Linked DNA regions of Homo sapiens: region 1 is linked to region 2. Evidence: promoter capture Hi-C in human tissues and cell types (Jung and others, 2019). All regions are on one chromosome and are shown on one strand. Each heading gives the region's core, a stretch centred on a gene start or on the middle of the fragment in contact. The rest is flanking DNA. Distances are from core to core; before and after follow the strand shown.

Region 1 (4,515 bases), core at 222-2,721, 990 kb before region 2:
AGCAGCCAAACTCACCAACATCCAGACATCCTGTACCCACAGCCAATGCCAAAGAAAAACTGACCAGTACTTTGTCACTTACCCCTGTCATGGTCCTGGAATGAAGGCAAGAAAATAACCAACTTCCTAAGCTAAAGAAACCTCTACACGGACTGAGGGTTGAGAATTGGTTCTGAAAAAGCAGGCATTTAATATTAATAACTTGATCTATTTGTTCATCTAGGGAGCCCAAGGAGCACCCATGCTGCATTTATACATTTAATGACCGTACTAACAGCACAAGGTACTGAAGATAGTACTATGACCTCGACAAACTCCTCTCACACAGATTACAACCTGGTAGAAAAGAGAGACCGGCAGGCAGACACCCATGGGGTACCACGAAATCCCCAACTGACACCTGAAATAACACATAAAGGATAAGAAGGATTATTTCAACCAAAGGACAGTGCCTCAGACATAGCGAACATACTGAAGGAACATGTAAGCCCAGAAGGAACTTGTTCTGATCTAAGAACCAAAAAAGATTCAGTATGGTTGAAGACACAGTACAGTCGAGACAAATGAATCTAAAGTTAAAGGAAGACAGGTCATGAAGGGCTTTGCAAGCCCCGTTCAAGAGCTTGGAAGAGCAATGAGAATCCACCAAAGGGTGATAAGGGAATGGGGGGACGCTTCTGGTCACATGATCAGATTTCTGTTTTAAGACCATGGCTGTAGCCTCTCTGTATAGAACAAACTACAGAGGATGAAGAAGAGATGCAGGGATCATCAGGAAGACACCGAGGTAGTCCAGAGAAGAAAAGGTGGCCTGAACTAGGTAGGGCAGGGGGATGGGACTGGAGAATGAACGTATCCAAGACAACTTTGCAAGGGATTCGATGTGGGTGGGTAAAGGAGTGAAGCAAGTGAGAATGATGCCCAATTCTGGCTTGGGCACCCGGGTGGATGGCCATGCCCAGAGAGGGAATACAACAGGAGATCAGCTTCCCCCGCCGGGCCCGACAGGACCTGTGGTCTCCCCGAGAGAGGGAACAAGGAGCAGAGGGAGAGTAAGGCTTCCGGCCCGCTGCTTTTGGGCCGGGCCAGGAGCAGTGTCCACCCGACACAGCTGGTCCCACAGGCCGATCCTCGGGCCCCTAGGGACCAGGGAAGGGGGCGGAGATCTGCCCAGTCGGCCCCGTCTGGCTCCAGAGCCCCCGGTGGGGCACAGGCTTCCGCCCCGGGAGACAGGCCGTGCTCCTAGCCGGTTAAGCGTCCCGAGACGGCCTGGGGGCCCAGCCCGCGCCCCCAGACTACTCCTGCCTCTCATCTTGAGCCCAAGCCTCCAGCCCACAGGAGAGGCGCCGGGATCCCGCCCGCTGCGGAGAGTGCGCTAGTTCACTCACCCTTACGGTCTCCGAAGCAGACGCGAAGCCCTCCAACGTGAGCCTCACCAGCCCCCGTCCCCAAAACGCTCTTCCTCGGCTTCGCCCCGCCCCCCCCCCCCCCCCGACCTGCCCTGCGCACGCGCGCTCCCTGCCGCCCGCCCATTGGCGCCGCCGGGCCCCTCCCGCTGGCGGCGGCGGGCTGTGAGGACGGCTCGCGTGAGTCCACGTGTAATCGGCCCGGGCCCAGCACTGGCGGGACTGACGCAGTTCTTCTACCTGCTTTCCCAAGGGCGACACTCGGCTCCACTCCAGTTGGGCCGCTGGACGCCCTAGGGGCCCGGCAGTTGCTAGGCAACGCCGGAAGCCCTCAGGAACGTAGTTCCACGGGCGACGTAGGATGGCGGATCCGGATGGGGCGGACCCCAAAGCTGGCTCCCAACTCCGCTCACCCCCTCCTATACAGGGCTCTTGGTTCAGGTCTCTTGGTTCGTCCTGCTGCAAGTTGGGAAGAAAGATAATAGGAATGCTAATTCCTTCTTGATGAAACGACCACAACACGCTGGAGCCGGCCTTGGACCCTACGTTTCAAGATTGGCCTGCTTCCAGCGTCTGCCAGCTCCACTGCACAAGCTGCGGCAGCCGCTGTCCCCGTTCGCTTCCACGGGAGTCCCAGCAAGACTATGCGACCCAGTTCAAATACCATCTTCCATGTACCGTTCGTGAAATCAGCAGCTTTTGACATTCAAGAGAGGACAGATTACTTAAAAACAGACTCATGAACAAATAGGGAAACGAATACATCATCCCTGTATCGAATTCATCCCTGTATAATCCTGCCCTTACACCTGTGCTCCTATACAAGATTAACATTCAGTAAGTATCCATTGACCTGATGGATAAATGAGTGTAGGACGGTCGTTTTGTTTTTTTGTTTTGTTTTGTTTTGTTTTGAGACGGAGTCTCGCTCTGTCCCAGGCTGGAGTGCAGTGGTGGGATCTCGGCTCACTGCAACCTCCGCCTCCCAGGTTCAAGCTCTTCTCCTACCTCAGCCTCCCGAGTAGCTGGGATTACAGGCGCGTGCCACCTTGCCCGGCTAATTTTTGTATTTTTAGTAGAGACGGGGTTTCACCGTGTTGGCCAGGCTGGTCTCTAACTGCTGACCTCTTGATCCTCCCGCCTCAGCCTCCCAAAGTGCTGGGATTACAGGCGTGAGCCACCACTCCCGGCAGGACGGTCGTTTTTTTTAAAGCCCTTCTCCCATTTCTGTCCATAAAGGTACATAATCGTTTTTCAAATGAGCCTGGGTCCGGACAGGAAAGACAAAGAAAGTGGCTAAGTAGTTAGATGCCTTGAAAGTTGCCTAACGCCACTGCCATTGACGGTCTCATTCCTTTTCCCACCTTCATCTGAGATTGAAATCTGCCACCCCATCCCAGAGAAAAATCCCATAATCCCTAATTTTTTTTTCTTTTTTTAAAGAAAAGAGTCTCCATGGTGCCCAGCTCGTCTCGAACTCCTGGGTTCAAGCAATCCTCCCACCACCTCCGCCTCCCAAAGTGCTGGGATTACAGGGGTGAGCCACCGCGCCGGGACAAAGAATCCCTAAGTTTTGAGGAAACCCTATTAATTCAAGACCCATTCTTCTTTCCTTACTCTGAACTTTGGATTAGTTTGATCTAGTTCCTCCTTCTACCCTGCATCTGCCATTCATCCATCTCTTCATCCATTCATCCACCCCTCCCTTTGTTCATTTATTCATTCAATAACATTTCTTGAATATCTTCTATGTACTAGGCGCTCTACTAGGAGCTACTAGAGATACAAATAAGACAAATGAAGTGTCAAGAAGCTGGTGTCTGGTAGATGGATAAAGTGTCCTCATTCTAGCCAGTGCTTTCATTTTTTTCCTATGGATGTTATCCTGTGTTATGTCTCTCTTGAATCTACAGTCACTCCCTCTCTACCAGATAATTCCCATCAACATATAAACTTGCTGTATTTTCTCCCCCACCATACCACTGAAACTGCAATCTCCATGCAAATCTAGTGGTCTCTTTGATCTCTTGTTTTTATTTTACTTGCCCTCTCAACACTGTTTTATCAAAGCCAACCACTCTCACTTAGAAACACTTTCTTCTCTTGTTTTCTGACACCACACACTCTGGGTCCTTCTGCTACCTCACTCATTATCCTTTCTTGGGCTTCTTAATTGGCTTCTCAATCTATAATTATCAAAGTGTCCAGGGTTCTGTTCTGAGTCACCTTCTCTATCCACCCTCCCTATGTGAGTTTACCTAGTCCTGTGCTTTAGATACCATTTATAAATAGATGACTCCAAAATATGTCTCTCTGACAATGACCTCTCTGTGTAATTCCTGGCTCCTGTAAATAACTGCCTACTTGATGTCTCCATATGAATGTCAGACTGGCATCTCAAACTTAATGTGTCCCCCCAAAATCTTGATTTTCACCCCCAAACCTGCACCTCTCTCAGTCTTGTGCATTTTAGTAAATGTCACTGGTACTCATTCTGTTGTTCAAGCTAAAATTCTACGAGCTGTTTTTGATTTATCTCATCCCTTTACCTTTAAATCCTTCAGCAAAGCCTGTTGATGCTATCAAAATGTATCCTGAGTCTTTGACTTCTTTCCACCTCCACTAAACCATCTAGTCCAGTAGTAGATGATGCTGCTGGACTACTTGAGAGAGAGCTTCCTAACTGACCGTCCTGCTTCCATTCTTGCCCTACTGTAGTCCATAAGTGAGAAGCCACCTTTGATTAAGCCATTTTATAGGTGGGTGTTCTGTAACTTGTAGCTGAACCCATTCCTAACAGGCAAATAATTTGGTACCAGAAGCAGGATGCTAAAAACAAGACACTAAAATATGGAATTGGCTAACTGGAGGTTAAGGTAGCCAGTGTTAAAAGACTGTATGTCAAACTGGAAAGTTGGTGACCCTTATAAGCCGTAGTGAAACTGTCACTTGCTGGACCTTGGATATAGGCCACATGCCAACCAATGCTATATTTTTGGAGAAATCTCACGAGCAATATGGAACATTAGTGAGTGTTGCCTTTTTTAGTAGCTTTCAGCAGACTCCTTCAAGAGAAGGGCAACTCTACGTTGGAAATAACTGATTTGAA
Region 2 (4,476 bases), core at 1-2,500:
AAACCAAACAAAGCGCGGCCTGAGCGAGAGCCCAGGCGAGAAGGGAAGCCGCGGCTTTTCCTGCCGGCCGGGCCCGGCCCGGGCTGACACTGCGGCACCGGGGGACCCGCCTCCGCTCAGCTTGGGTCTCCCACCCCCAGGGCGCGCAGGCCGCCCCCGCCCGCCCGCCCGCCCGCCCGCCCCGGCCTCCCTTCCCGCGGTGCCCGGGAAGGCGGGCGGTTGGGAGGTAGCGCGGCCTTACCCCGCTCGCCGACGTTGTTCCGCTCCTGAGGCAGCGGCGGAGGCGGCGGTGGCGGCGGCGGAGGCTGCTGCTGCTGCTGCTGCTGCGGCGGCGGCGGAGGCTGCTGCTGGGGCGGCTGCTGCTGGGGCGGCTGCGGCGGCGGCTGCTGCGGGGGCTGCTGCTGCTGTTGCTGCACCGGGCGCGGCCGCGACACTCGCCTGGGTCTCCGGTTGGCGGCTCGGACGGAGTTCATTTGCCGGGCTGAGGTGGCGGCGTTGGCGGAGGGACACACACACGCACACGCACAGCGAGCTTCGGGGCAGGAGAAAGGGGTGGGGAGAGTGGGAGAGGGGGGAGGAAGGAGAGGGGGCGAGGGGAAGGGGAGACGCTGAGGGCGGAGGGGGCGAGCGGGACCCCGAGTCCGGAGAAAGGCCCGGGTAGACAGACGGAGACCGAGCGAGGCCGGCCGGGAGGGCCTGACGCACGGGGAAGGCCGAAGCCGCCGGGCGGGGCGGCCGCGAGGGACGAAGGCAGAAAGACGGGCAGACCGAGAGAAAGAAAGAAAGGGCGTCCGCCGCTTGGGGATCCCGAGGCGAAGCGCGGCGGCGGCGGCGGCGGCGGCTGAAGAGACAGATCCCGGTCCCGCCGACTCGCGAGCGGCGTCTCCGGCAGCGGGGGGAGTGGGCGGGCGGGTGAGGAAGGGAGAAAAAGAGAGGGAGAGAAGGGAGGGAGGGAGCAGGGGGCGCCCGGCTCTTTTTTTTCCCTCTTCCTCCCCCCCACACCCCCTGAAAGAGATTTCTGTGAGGAATTTTTCTCTCTTTCTTCGGTCTCTTCTCTCTCCTCCCCCCCTTCTCTCCTCGGCGAAGGGGAAATGAGTGTGAAGGGAGGAGATAGGGGGAAAAAGAGGCGTCGTCCTTCCTCCTCCTTAAAGGAACCTTTCCTCCTCCTCCTCGTCAGCCCTGTCGCCGCTGCTTCTGCTGCTGCTCCGTGGCAGGAGGAGCCATTGACACCGCCGGAGCCTCCACTCGCCCAGTCGGTCCCTCCCCGCCGCGGGGCTGGCCGGGGGCGCGGGGGAGGGCCGCGGGGCGGCGGGGGGAGGGGTGGGTGGGCGGGGAAAGGAGGGGCGGGGATTCCGTCCAGGCGGCCAATCTAAGGCGCCCGTACAACCTTCCGGCCAATGGGGCCTCCGCTCTTATCGCGAAGTCCCTTCAACGCCCTGTTTCCTCTCTCGGGTTTCCTCCCTCCCCCGCCTAGGAGGGGGAAAGAGGAAAGGGGGAGTGTGGCGGGGCGGGTGATAATGGGGAGGTATCAGGGCAAATAATAGAGCAGGGGGTGGGCGAAGAGAGCGCCAGTGCGTAGCGACGATTCTGGGAGAGGAGGTGCTCGGAGGAAAGGGCGGGGGTTGCTGATGTAATGGGGAGAAGTGATTAATCCTTCGGTTCGCCGTTTCAGCTTCCCCCCTACCCCAACCTTCACCCGATTTTTTTGAGCTGAAAAAAAAGTGGAACGAGGGAGCCAATCTTTGGTAACTCGGGTTTTCTGTGGTAGGTGGGTTCAAAATCTGAGCTGTAGGGAGCGCTAGAGATTTCGTGCCCTTTAGCCAAGCTGAGGGTATTTGCAAACCCTGAAGATTTCCGTCTCCGAGCTTTGGGCTTGGTAAGCGAAGTTTGGAGTCGGTGCCTAATCGTATATCATCTAAACCTTGAAAAGGCTTTGACCTTTGGCCAATTTGATTTGTTCTTTGAAGAAGTGTATACAATGTGTGGGAAAATAATATGTGAGAGGAGAGAAGTAAATGTGTTGATGTTGTGATTGTTTATGTGATTTAATTTTTAATTTTTTTTTTTTAGGTCCCACAAACTGCAAGGAAAAGAAAAACCCTCAACAGGAATTACCTTTATACCTGATGCCCCCAACATAATCTCTCTCCAAGGGAAACGTGTTTTTATTGCCTTGCGGCTGAAAATGTATTCTCGATTCTCCCCCTTCTCTCTTTTGTTGTGCATTTTTTGGATGTGGTAAAACTGGCAGTTTATCTGATTATCTGGTTTTCAGAACTTTGGGCGATGTCTCTGAGTGTCATCAGTTGCTCTCTAGGTTTGACATAGATAATTAAGCAACTACAAAGCGTGATAAAGCTTTTGAGAGGGAGGAAAATGTATTTTGGAAGGAGGGAGAGACGCAAAGAGGCGAGCCTGTGTGTTGAGTCCCAGACTTGGTGTGTGACTACAGGCAAAGTACTTCACCTTTCTAGATGTCAGCCCCGCCCCCCTCACCTCCCAAGTTTAAATAAGAACTTATTTTAGACTACATGATCCTGTTTTCAATTTTTAAGAGTTCTGTGATTTTGAGATGATCTCTCTTTAGTCCAGAAAAATAGAGAAACGTAGGTCTATGTTTGTTTCTCAAAAAAATATTTGAGGAGGACAGCTGTTACAAAACAGCTGGAGAACTCCAAATTTTTATGGTGGTTAGCTAGGTGCAAATGGGTACAATTTTAGGTTTGTTCAAATAAACATAGGGGAAAAGTAAAAGTACAGGAAAATTACGTTATACATATAAGTGTGTCCATCATTTCTGATTTTTCTAAAAATTTACTTTTTTATTTGACAAGTACTTTTTGGCTCCTTCCGTGTATGCATTAATATGTATATAAGGTGTTATGGGAAATACTAATAAAAGGAAAATATTGGGCATAAAGAGTTTGTATTTTGGTGTGGCAGAGTGGAAGTTTTACTTACATTAATTCAGATGTAAAGAAAATGTAGCTTGTTTATTTTCTGTAATTTTAACTTCAAGTCCCCACATCATCTCAATTTTTTAAAAAACATAACTGCTTTCACCTTTTATTTCCCCAACTCTCCTTCTAATATATTAATGGGAGGGGCGGGGTTTAGGGTTGTTATATGTGGTATAAGGGGTATCTTTTACATACCCTAGATTTCTAAGTTTATTGCAACAATTCTCTGACATATGGCAGTAAAATGCCTTGTTTTAGCAAAATTAGTATATTATGACAATTTCCTGATAGATGGTAGTAAAGTGTCTTGAGAAAGGAAGCACCTTTTTCAAATTCACAGAGTAACTGGTAGGGTGGTAGCATCCCTGAGGAATAGGGAGGTTTACAAGGGCATCTAAGCCACTAATGCCAGTCCTTATGTTGTCTTCTGGCGTGGAGTGGCTAGTATTGTCTGATGGCAGCCACTGTCGTTTATCATTTATTACTCATAAAACTGGTCATTTCTGTACTTTTGAGGCTGATTTCTTTTGCTGAAATCCATACATGAGCCATTTGCCCCATACACTATAACCTCTTTGTACTGACCCCGAGTCTCCACAGGTCCCTTGATCCTCATGGTTCTCACTGAGACACATGGGTACTTCTGGATTCCCCGAATACCACGTGTAGGCCTTGATGAGCCAGGAGCCTTGCTTTGGGCTTACTAGTTGTTGAGCCACTATCCAACAATGTTGCATTTTTCTCCTTATGTCATATTGAACATGCTGGCAGGCTGAAAGTAGAACTCCTAGACGTCTTAGTGTTTCACAGACATGTCCAGGGACGCAAACCACTATCTCCAACTTTCTTGGATTTCCCTATGTCTCTGTGCATATGTCAACTACATACCCTCAATTCTAGTTTCCACCCTGAGAGGGGATGGAAAGTAAGCACACTGAGTCTGATTAACCTCTTCCTTGTACCCTTTTCTTCTTTCCATCATGCCCCAGGGTTTTTAAGGAATGGATTTTTCTCCTTCCCATTTGTCAGGAACTTTCCTTCTGTACCGTATCCTCTTCATTTTTGAGATTTGGCATTTCTTCTGCTCCCTTTCTTGGAGCCGTGATAGCTGATGAAGTGCTCAAGAGAGAACCCAGTTTAACAATAATGGAACACCTATTGGGAGATATTAAAAAATATTATCCTATCCCTACATTACTGGTTTCTACATATGTTTAGTTTATTTCAGGGATTAAATGTTGAAGTCATCTTTGTGTAAAAGTGTTCAAACTCAATTGTGGAACTTAAGAGTTGTCAGGACGGACCTTGGAGATCATTAAATCTCATTTCTGTATTCAACAGACTAGGAAACTAAACTCCAAAGAAGGGAGGTGACAAAACTATAACTATTTGGTAGCAAAGCCACTGTCTGCCAATCCAGGGCCCTTTCCATTCAGAAGCATTGTAGACAGTATTTTGAGTTCTGGTGAGAACCCAAAATATCCTGGAAGGTTTTATCCATAGGCAGATCCACCTA

Evidence for each region. The method cuts DNA at HindIII sites, captures the fragments that hold promoters and counts their contacts. A contact is called where the count stands out against the background at its distance.
Region 1: a contact is called between the fragment with the promoter of MCFD2 here and the fragment with the promoter of FBXO11 in region 2, in 1 of the 25 tissues and cell types used here (hippocampus).

The regions. Positions count from the first base shown.
Region 1 is chr2:46,914,335-46,918,849 of GRCh38, forward strand. It overlaps MCFD2 (multiple coagulation factor deficiency 2, ER cargo receptor complex subunit), which reads right to left and starts at 1,472. Exons shown (of 4, transcript NM_139279.6): 1 at 1,389-1,472. It also overlaps a transcript of TTC7A not described here. RefSeq lists a silencer at 1,459-1,538 and an enhancer at 1,542-2,516. The HindIII fragment of the contact is 16,990 bases long and covers 1-4,515 here.
Region 2 is chr2:47,905,248-47,909,723 of GRCh38, forward strand. FBXO11 (F-box protein 11) reads right to left here and starts at 1,251. Exons shown (of 23, transcript NM_001190274.2): 1 at 242-1,251. The coding sequence starts at 473. It overlaps LOC100506235 (a long non-coding RNA gene), which reads left to right and starts at 303. Exons shown (of 2, transcript NR_187636.1): 1 at 303-552; 2 at 2,071-2,920. RefSeq lists silencers at 24-73, 84-203, 564-753, 1,244-1,343 and an enhancer at 1,413-2,197. The HindIII fragment of the contact is 7,202 bases long and covers 1-4,476 here.